Linked DNA regions of Homo sapiens: region 1 is linked to region 2. Evidence: promoter capture Hi-C in human tissues and cell types (Jung and others, 2019). All regions are on one chromosome and are shown on one strand. Each heading gives the region's core, a stretch centred on a gene start or on the middle of the fragment in contact. The rest is flanking DNA. Distances are from core to core; before and after follow the strand shown. Region 1 has its middle 190 kb from the start of LINC02338. Region 2 holds the start of PCDH17 (protocadherin 17).

Region 1 (4,595 bases), core at 961-3,460, 340 kb before region 2:
CCAGCCTGACAATGGAATAGAAAAGAAAAACCCATTTTCTGGGGAGAAATTCAGGTCAGTGGCAGACATTTGCATAAGTAGCAAGGAATCAATGTTAACCACTGAGACAATGGGGAATATATTCCCAGGGCATGTCAAGTACATTTATGGAAGCCCCTCTCATCACAGGCCCAGAGGCCTAGGAGGGAAAAATGGTTTTCTGGGCTGGGTCCAGGGCCCACCTGCTATAAGCAGCCTTTGGAGTTGGTGCCCTGCATCCCAGGCGTTTCGGCTGTGGCTAAAAGGAGCCAAGATACAGTGTGGACTGTGGCTTTAGTGGGTTCAAGCCTCAAGCCTTGGCAGCTTTCATGTGGTGTTGAGCCTGTGGGTACACGGAAGTCAAGAACTGAGTTTGGGAACTTCTGCCTAGATTTCAGAGGATGTATGGAAATGCCTGGATGTTCAGGCAGAGGTGTGCTGTAGGGGTGGAGCCCTTATGGAGAACATCTGTTGGTCAGTGTGGAAGGGAAATGTGGGGTAAGAACCCCCACATAGAGACACCACTGTGGCATTGCCTAGTGCAGCTGTGAGAAGAGGCCCATGGTTCCCCGGACCCCAGAATGGTAGATCCACAGACAGCTTGCACTGTGCACCTGGAAAAGCTGCAGACACACTCAATGCCAGCCCATGAAAGCAGCCAGGTGGGAGCCTTTACCCTGCAAAGGCACAGAGGCAGAGATGCCCAAGGCCATGGGAGCCCACCTCTTGCATCAGCGTGACCTGGATATGCGACATGATGTCAAAGGAAATCACTTCAGAGCTTTAAGATTTGACTACCCTGTTGGATTTTGGACTTGCATGAGGCCTACAGCCCCTTTGTTTTGGCCAATTTCTCTTATTTGGAATGGCTGTATTTACCCAATGCCTATACTCCTGTTGTATCTAGGAAGTAACTAACTTGCTTTTGATTTTTCAGGCTTGATATAGTTTGGCTGTGCCCCCACCCAAATCTCATCTTGAATTGTAACTCCCACAATTCTCACATGTTGTGGGAGGAACCCTGTGAAAGGTAATTGTATTATGTGGTCTTTCCTGTGCTGTTCTCCTAATAGCGAATGAGTCCTGTGAGATCTGATGGTTTTAAAAATGGGAGTTTCTCTGCACAAGCTCTCTCTTTGCCTGCTGCCATCCATGTAACATGTAACTTGCTCCTCCTCAACTTTCACCATGATAGTGAGGCCTCCCTAGCCATGTGGAAATGTAAGCCCAATAAACCTCTTTCTTTCGTCCAGTCTCAGGTATGTCTCAGGTATGTCTTGCCAGTCTCAGGTATGTCTTTATCAGCAGTATGAAAACAGACTAATACAAGGCTTATAGGCAGAAGGGACTTGCCTTGTCTCAGATGAGACTTTGGACTTTGGACTGTGGATGTTGAGTTAATGCTGAAATGAGTTAAGACTTTGGGGGACTGTTTGAAGGCATGATTGGTTTTGAAATCTGATGACATGGGATTTGGGAGGAGCCAGGGAGGGAATGATATGGTTTGTCTCTGTCCCCACCCAAATCTCGAATTGTAGCTGCCTTGTGTTGTGGGAGGGACCTCGTGGGAGGCAATCAAATCATGGGGTTGGTCTTTCCTCTTCTGTTCTCATGATAGTGAATAAGTTTCATGAGATCTGGTAGTTTTATAAAGGGGAGTTTCCTTCCACATGCTCTTTTTGCATGCTGCCATGTAAGATGTCCCTTTGCTCTTCCTTCATCTGCCATGATTGTGAAGCCTCCCCAGCCATGTGGAACTGTGAGTTCATTAAAGTTCTTTCCTTTATAAATTACCCAGTCTCAGTTATGTCTTTATTAGCAGCATGAGAACAGACTAATACAACTATCAAAACATATTTAAGCTTTGCTCACTTCTGTAAAACAGTCTGGTTTACTTTCAAACTGAGAAAGGAAGAAGAAAACAAAGGAATTTTTTCCATTTTCCAATATGCTGAACTGCTAGTCCTCTTCTAACACCACAGGCAACTTGATAGTATTGATGTGATATATTGTGGAAGTAAACTGAACTTTAATTGATCCATGATTTTAATCCATACTGTGCTGCTGGGAGGAAGATCTGAGGTACTGGAGTATGATGTGAAGTGTAACAAATGCCTTTGTGACTTTAAATATCTTTACAGTTTTGTAATAGTCACTGCAGACTTAAGCTAGAAATAACAGGAATAAAAATGTAAAGTGTATTTTGACAATCTCGTAATACTTTAAAATGAAAATAAAACCTGAATCAAAGCAAGTGTATAAAACCAAGAAACAAAATAAATATATTAAACCATATGCTGTTAAAGTATCATTACTCTCCTGAACTCTTGTAACTTAACAACGGAAATACATTTTTCAGACTGAATTATCCTGCCAGTTGTGCATCATTTGGTGACATAAAACCATCTTACAAAATACAATATAACCTCAGGATTTTCTCCTCACTACATCATGGACTTTGCATAACAGCTACTCTTTCTCCCACTGAGCAAATGAGCCAATAAGGTGAGGTAAGGGAAGAGGTGGAAAAGAAAAGAAGTCGAGAAGAAAGTCATTTTTCCTAGCCATGTAAGAGAACATGTAACGGCTATGTTATCTCATTCAACACAAAGAATCCCTGGATTTCTTTTTTTCACCACAAAGCAGTCAGTATTCCCTCCTCCCCAGCTATCTTACCCAACAATACTTCAGAGACAGTTTGGTTCTTTGGCTTTTAGTGTCTGTTAAAATGTAGAACTGAAAGCACACTATGGAGCTTTGATTTAGCATTTTTTTTCCTTCTCACAGAAACAAAAACCTAAAGGAATTTTAGGTTCTTCTAAAGTGATCCTGAAACCACAACTAAAAGTCAGGAATCAAAGGACAAACCATTGTCCAGGCATCCTATTATCCTGAGCAACGTTATGTTCACCAAGAACTTCAGAGGCTTCTAAGGGTGTTTATGCAAATTTCCTCATAGTGTGGGAGATATCTAGTGCTATCCATGCCATTTAAATAAGTACTTGAGCTCAAAGGGAAAAATGTGGTAAGCAAATGCTACAGGGTGTCAAGAGACTAAGAAAAATGTTAAACCTTACATAAAAATAAACCCAACCCCAAAGATTAATGACTGTGCAGAAGTTAAAACTGGATAAGAAAGAAGAGTATAATATGTAAATGTGACAGAATTCATATTGTCAACTCTTTTAAGATTCCTAAAATATGGGTTCAGCAAGGAGATTTATTTATAAATATTGTAATGTTTGAATTTTACTTGAAGAGACTATTGTTTTATCAAAGACCATAAGTGTAAAAACAGAAAGAATTTGTCATCAGAGGGTAGGAAAAAGCTCAACATCATCACAATACTAGGAAGTGTTTTTTTTTTTTTTTTTTTCTCTATTGACTTTAATTAATCTCTCTCTCTGGACTTCTGTGAGATGGAAAAAGGTTTATTTTTGTTTTTAGAGCTTGCTTGCCAGATGGAATTCTTTGAACTACTACTGCTCTAACTCTGCCAACCACAGCATTCACAGCTAAAGATTTTAATTTGTTTTACAACCCGACAAAAGTAGAACAAGTAACTGTGTATGTAGTGGAGTAGGGAGGTGAGGGTCAACCCTGAGGACACAGACATTTACTATTAGTAAGGTAGGCATGCAATGCCCACCTCTTTCTGTTTCTTTCTTCTAATTATTATAAAAGATCCCTGGCACTGAGGTCAAAATTTAACATTTTTAAAAATCTCTTTACCATTATCTCTAAAATAACAATGACCTAAGTAGAAGCTTGGTTTTTCTTCCTGTTACATTTTTTTTTACAACATACAAGGCACCACATTGCCTATAGTAGTTGATATACACAATTAGATGCATTGATTTAAATTTCAGTGTGATCAATTTAAGTCAGGATATATTGTTAAAAGTGCTACATATTAGAAAAGCCAGATAGAAATGCTTTTGAAAACAATTTTAAGCATCACAAATAATATATAGGGGATTTAATTCTAACATGATTCACCTCACTAAAACTTAATGCTTGCATACTAGTCAAAAAAGCAATTCACATGAAAACTGATGGTTTTCCTACTGAAATGTTCTTCCCTCTTCCATTACCCTTACATTGCATAAACGTTAGCTTACTAATGACATTCTGTGTTCTCTCTGATCTAGGGCAACATATGAGAAAAGGAAGAGGAAAGAAGAGGCAGTTGATTTGAATTAAGAAAAATACTTTTATTTAAATTCAATTTTTAATAGTAGCTCATATTGAGAGGGCATAGACAGAGGGGATTTAACTAGTTTCCCAGATAGACAATGGCAAAATCAAAGCAAAAAGCAATCCTTCCTTCTTTTCCTCCTTTCTCTCCATCTCTTTTTTTTTTCTTTTCTCTTCCTCTCTTTTTTTAATGAGACAGAGTCTGGCTATGTTGCCCAGTCTGGTCTGGTACTCCTGGACTCAAGCCATCCTCCTGCCTCAACCTCCAGAGTAGCTACAATTACAAGTGTGAGCCACTGGGTTTGGTTCCTTTTCTTTCTTGCTTGCTTGGTTTTCCTTTCCTTCTTCCTTCATCGTACATTTACTGATTAACCTATTAT
Region 2 (4,800 bases), core at 1,585-4,084:
GGCCACTGCGGACAGGGTAGGCTTGCCGTGGTCGGTCACCTTCACCACCAGCTCCACCACGGGCGTCACGTCCTCCCAGAAAGGGTGCAGCGTGCGGATCTCGCCGCTGGACGGGTCGATCTCAAACAGGTGGTCGTCGTTGCCGTCCACGATCTCGTAGGTGAGACGCCCGCTCTCGCCGAAGTCGCTGTCTAGGGCGCGCACAGTGCTCACCAGATAGCCCAGGCCAGCGTTGCGCGGCACCTGCAGCTCCGCGGTGTCGTTCTGCAGCGTGGGGAGCACGATCACTGGCGCGTTGTCATTCACGTCTAGCACTGTCACCCTCACCGTGGCGTTGCTCTCCAAGTGCGCGGGCGCCCCCGAGTCCTTAGCAAGCACCTTGAACTCAAAAGCCTTGGTCTGCTCGAAGTTAAAGGAGCGCAGGGCGTAGATGGCCCCGTTCGTGGGATTCACAGACACATAGGTGTAGATAGACACGTCGCCGATGTGCGAGGGCAGGATAGAGTAGGATACGGTGCCGTTCTGGCCCAGGTCGGGATCCTGGGCGAGCACAGAGCCCAGGTACTCTCCCGGGATGTTGTTCTCGTGCACCTGAAGCACGTAGAGCCCTTTGGTGAACCGAGGCGGGTTGTCGTTCTCGTCTAGAATCTTGATCGCGAACGACTTGGTGGAGTTGAGGGGAGGAGAGCCCCCGTCCCGCGCCACGATGGTCACGTTGTACTCGTCTTGTGTCTCGCGGTCCAGCGGGCGGTCAGTCACCACCGTGTAGAAGTTGTCGTAGTTCTCCTCAAGCTTGAAGGGGACGGAACCCCCGGGCCCGCCCAGGCCCCCGCCGCCGCCCGTCCCTCCTCCGCCTAGGACCCGACACTGCAGCTGTCCGTTCTTGCCAGAGTCCCGGTCAGTGACCCGCACCAGGGCGATGACGGTGCCGGGAGGGGCGGCCTCGCTCAGCGCCCCCTGGCGCACGGAGACGAAACCGATGGACGGCGCATTGTCGTTGCGGTCGATGAGCTTGACCGTGACTTTGCAGTGGGCTGGGATAGGGTTAGGCCCCAGGTCTCGGGCCTGCACGTCAATCTCCAGCATCCCGTTTTCCTCATAGTCCAGATTGCCCTTCACACGGATTAGGCCGGTCTTGGGGTCGATGGAGAAGAGCTCCCGCACGCGGTCAGGCACGTAGCTGCTGAAAGAGTAGAGCACTTCACCATTGGGACCTTCATCGGCGTCGGTGGCGTTCAGATCGATGACCACTGTACCCAGCGGAGCGTTCTCGGGCAGTTCCACCAAGTAGGATGGCGCCTCGAAGACCGGGCTGTTGTCGTTGGAGTCAATCACCTTCACGTTGATCTGTACGGTGGCGGAACGTGGAGGCTCGCCACCGTCCAGGGCAGTCAGCACGAGCGTATGGTGATTCTGTTGCTCGCGGTCCAGAGCCTTCTGGATGACCAGTTCTGGGAACTTGGTGCCGTCGCCGCGGGACTTAACGTCCAGTCCAAAGAGGCCGTGATCGTCGCGCGTGAGCAGGTAGGTGCGGAGCCCATTCTCGCCGGCGTCGGGGTCATGTGCGCTGGTGAGGGGGAAGCGGGTGCCCGGAGCAGCGTTCTCCGAGATGTCCATTTCGATCTGGTCCGAGGAGAAGGAGGGCGCGTTGTCGTTGATGTCCTGGATCTCTACCTTGATCATGCAGATCTCCTTGTCGTTGGCGAACACCTCGAGGGACAGCTGGCACTTGGCATTGTGGCGGCACAGGGACTCGCGGTCGATGCGCTGCTTGGTGTAGAGGAGCCCGCTGTCTGCGTCCACGTCCAGCAGGTGCGGTGCGGAGTTCTCCAGCACCCGGTAGCTACCCGACTTGCTGCGCCCTCCGCCGCCGCGCTCTGCAGGCGGAAGCCCAGGCTGCAGTCGAGCATCCCTGCCGATGTTCCCGATCACCGTGCCGGCCCCTTGCTCCTCCGGCACGGAGTAGTTGAGGTTCTTGAGAGTGAGGGCAGGGGCCCATAGAAGAAAGCAGCAACAGATGGAAAGGTACATCCCAGACCTGTAAGGTGGGGGCAGGAGCAATCGGACTGGAGGAGCCAGAGAGGGAGTGCGCGCCAGCCTGGGGCCCTGGCGCAGCGTGCGCGCGCGACGCGAGCCACAAGTCTATGGGTCCTTTTTTCCCTCTGCACCCGAGCTGCGGCACCCGGTGGTCTCTCCTTATTCTGCTCAAGTTCCCTGAACCTGTTGATCTACAGCATCCGCACTGGGTGAGAAGCTGCGGTGCAGCAGAGCTGCAGGGGCTTGGAGCAAGGCGGTGGCTTCCTGCGGCTGGGGGTGAGCCAGGGGTTTCGTCTCTCCCGCCCGGACTTCGGGAGGCTCAAACTTGAGCGATGAGGCAGGCGATAAGAAGGAAATCTCGTCTGGGAGAGATGATAATGAGCTAAAGAATCAGTAGGTTTTCCTCGCTCCCGCTAGGGTGCTGCAAATCTACTCCCGCCCGGAGACTCCGGAATACTCTTCACATCGAGTGGGGGAGGGAGCAGGGAGGTGTGTCTCTAGGCAGATCCGAAAGTGAAATTCTTACTTGCTGCTCGCCTCCCGTGATGAAATTGATGGGGATGAAGAGCAACGAAGACAGAGTCACAGATATATTTTGAAGCTTCCCCAGCGCACCGTGAAATGTCTGCTTGCTGCGCGGGCCGGTCTGTTTTCAGGCAGTGTTTTGCTGCATTTAGAGATCTAATCTTGCATTGCTGGCTGAGGCAGCGGCGGCGGCGGACTGCATCTACCAGCCAAGCGTATTTTTTTTTTCCTCTCTCTCCTTTCCGAGCAGCCAAAGGGAGGGGAGGAAATGCAGCGTAAAGAACTAGTGTCCCGATTTGTAGTTTCCTCTCCCCACCAGGCTCCTCCCTCTCTTCCTCGGAAAAGGCTCTCCCCCGAAATCAAGAAAGCCACAGCCTGATCAGCATTTGCTGTGTGAGTCTATTGGGAGGGGGGAAGTAGAGAGATAAATCTTCGCCTCTGTTCGTAGAACACACTCTCTGATTTCTCTACGCCAAGCCAGTAGCCTCCGCTACCATCCCATCCTCTCCCCGCGAGCAAGGACTTCTCTCCAAGCAGTTTAATTCCAGTTTGCTTTTCTTCCCAGGCGAAGGGAAATCAACAGGCAACTCATGGTTGGACGTGCACATTTAAAGGAGGAGGGGGGAGGCCGAATAAAAAGGAAGGGGGAGCCTCCCTCCCAGTCCTTGCACACACACTCTCCCTGTCTCTCGCTAGAAGGGAAACAGTCTCTGCATTCACAGGGCTGGGCTGTCAAGTGCCTCTTTTCTTTCTATTCAGCATCTCCTTCCAATAGCCCTGCCTCCCAGTCCTCTTCATCTAGAAAAGAAAACCTTGGCGAGGAATAAAAGTGATGAATATTTGAAGCAAATAAAGTACGTGTTTTTTTTTTTCCTTCAATTTTCTCTTATAGTAGGAGGAGTGGGCTGGATGAAAGCAACACATCAAGGTTTGGCGTGATGCATTCTGCAGTCTCTCTTTCAGTTTTTCTGGGCGACTCAGGGAGGGCAGGGGGTGCAGAGCTGCGGCCGCGGCGGTCCAGCCAGGGGCTCCTACCCCGGGGAGCTCCCTCCGAGGGGATGTTAGACACAGGTCTGTCTACACATTATTTCGGGTTCTGGAGGCGCCTCGACATACGGGAATGACACATCCAGAAATGCAGGTGTTCCGATCTGCCGGATGAGTCAGAAGCAGCGGAACGAATCGTATTCACTCTCGCCTCATGGTCCTCCCTTCACAGACATTAGTTGCGGCTTCTTCCTAACGCTTTCTCTGACTCAGTCTATAGAAAGAAAAACCAGATTCATGTTTTTGGGGAAAAAGAAAATGCAAGAGAAAAGGATGGAGGGAAGAAGGTGAAGCTGAATCTAGCAGCACTTTTACTCTACCTCTTTCTGCCGGAGTCCGAGGTTCTGGAAAACAAGGCGTCTGCTTTGCTAGGTGTATTGGTTTATTTATTTTGTTTATTTTTTTTAAACCTTTCCTCTTGGTTAGGCGAGAGGTACCCCGAAATTTTTCAGAGTCTTGGAAAAGGAAAAACAAAATCAGGTTTCCAGTAATTGTTCCCAGCTTAGCCTCGCATCATAGTTCAAGATTTTCCTCTCAATTTTTTCTATTCACAAAGTCCAACATCGATGTGTACAGTTAATTGTGCAGTCTGTTGTGGAGGTTTTTTTTTTTTTTAATTCCTCCTTTTCTGTCACGGGTGGTCTCTTTCAGTCTGGTGTCTGCCGGGATCACCCCACAGTCTGAGAAAGATATGCGGATTTCAAAGCAAATAAATCCATCTCCGCAAGCAAAGCAGCGGATGAAAGGAAAGGTGAAAATTCAATTCAACAGTTGGAGTAGCGTCTCCCCAGCCGCCTTCCGCCGCTGCCGCATCCGCCGGGCTCGCGATCCCTGCTCTCTCCCCAGCGTCTCTTGCTGACTGACTCTATTCACCTCACGCCGCCGCTTAAACATTGATACTGATTCCCTGTCAGCCAATCCGAGCGAGGAGCAAGGCCCTGCCTTCTCGGCCCGCGTCCAATGGGAGGCGGAGAAGAGGATGGCGGGGGCGGGGCCAGGAGCCCCGGCTCTTCGGAGTCATTGATTAGATCAGTTAGATGGGGAACCAGTCCGGCTAGCGGAGCCCAGCGCTCCGCCAAAGCGGACGCGCCCCAGGATTCGCCACCAGGTCTCCCGGGCCTTTAACCACCGGGAGTAGCTCTTCCAGCGCCTTCCTTCGGAAAAGAGAATTTACAAAAAAAAGTTTAACAG

Evidence for each region. Contacts are between HindIII fragments. The study calls those that stand out against the background at their distance.
Region 1: a fragment that was not itself captured here is called in contact with the fragment with the promoter of PCDH17 in region 2 in 1 of the 25 tissues and cell types used here (H1 embryonic stem cells).

What each region holds. Positions count from the first base shown.
Region 1 is chr13:57,968,996-57,973,590 of GRCh38, reverse strand. No RefSeq gene overlaps it. Among named protein-coding and RNA genes, the nearest start is that of LINC02338, 190 kb to the left of the region's middle. The HindIII fragment of the contact is 5,221 bases long and covers 1-4,595 here.
Region 2 is chr13:57,629,778-57,634,577 of GRCh38, reverse strand. It overlaps PCDH17 (protocadherin 17), which reads right to left and starts at 2,834. Exons shown (of 4, transcript NM_001040429.3): 1 at 1-2,834. The coding sequence starts at 2,031. RefSeq lists enhancers at 1,648-2,327, 4,286-4,800. The HindIII fragment of the contact is 5,195 bases long and covers 1,716-4,800 here.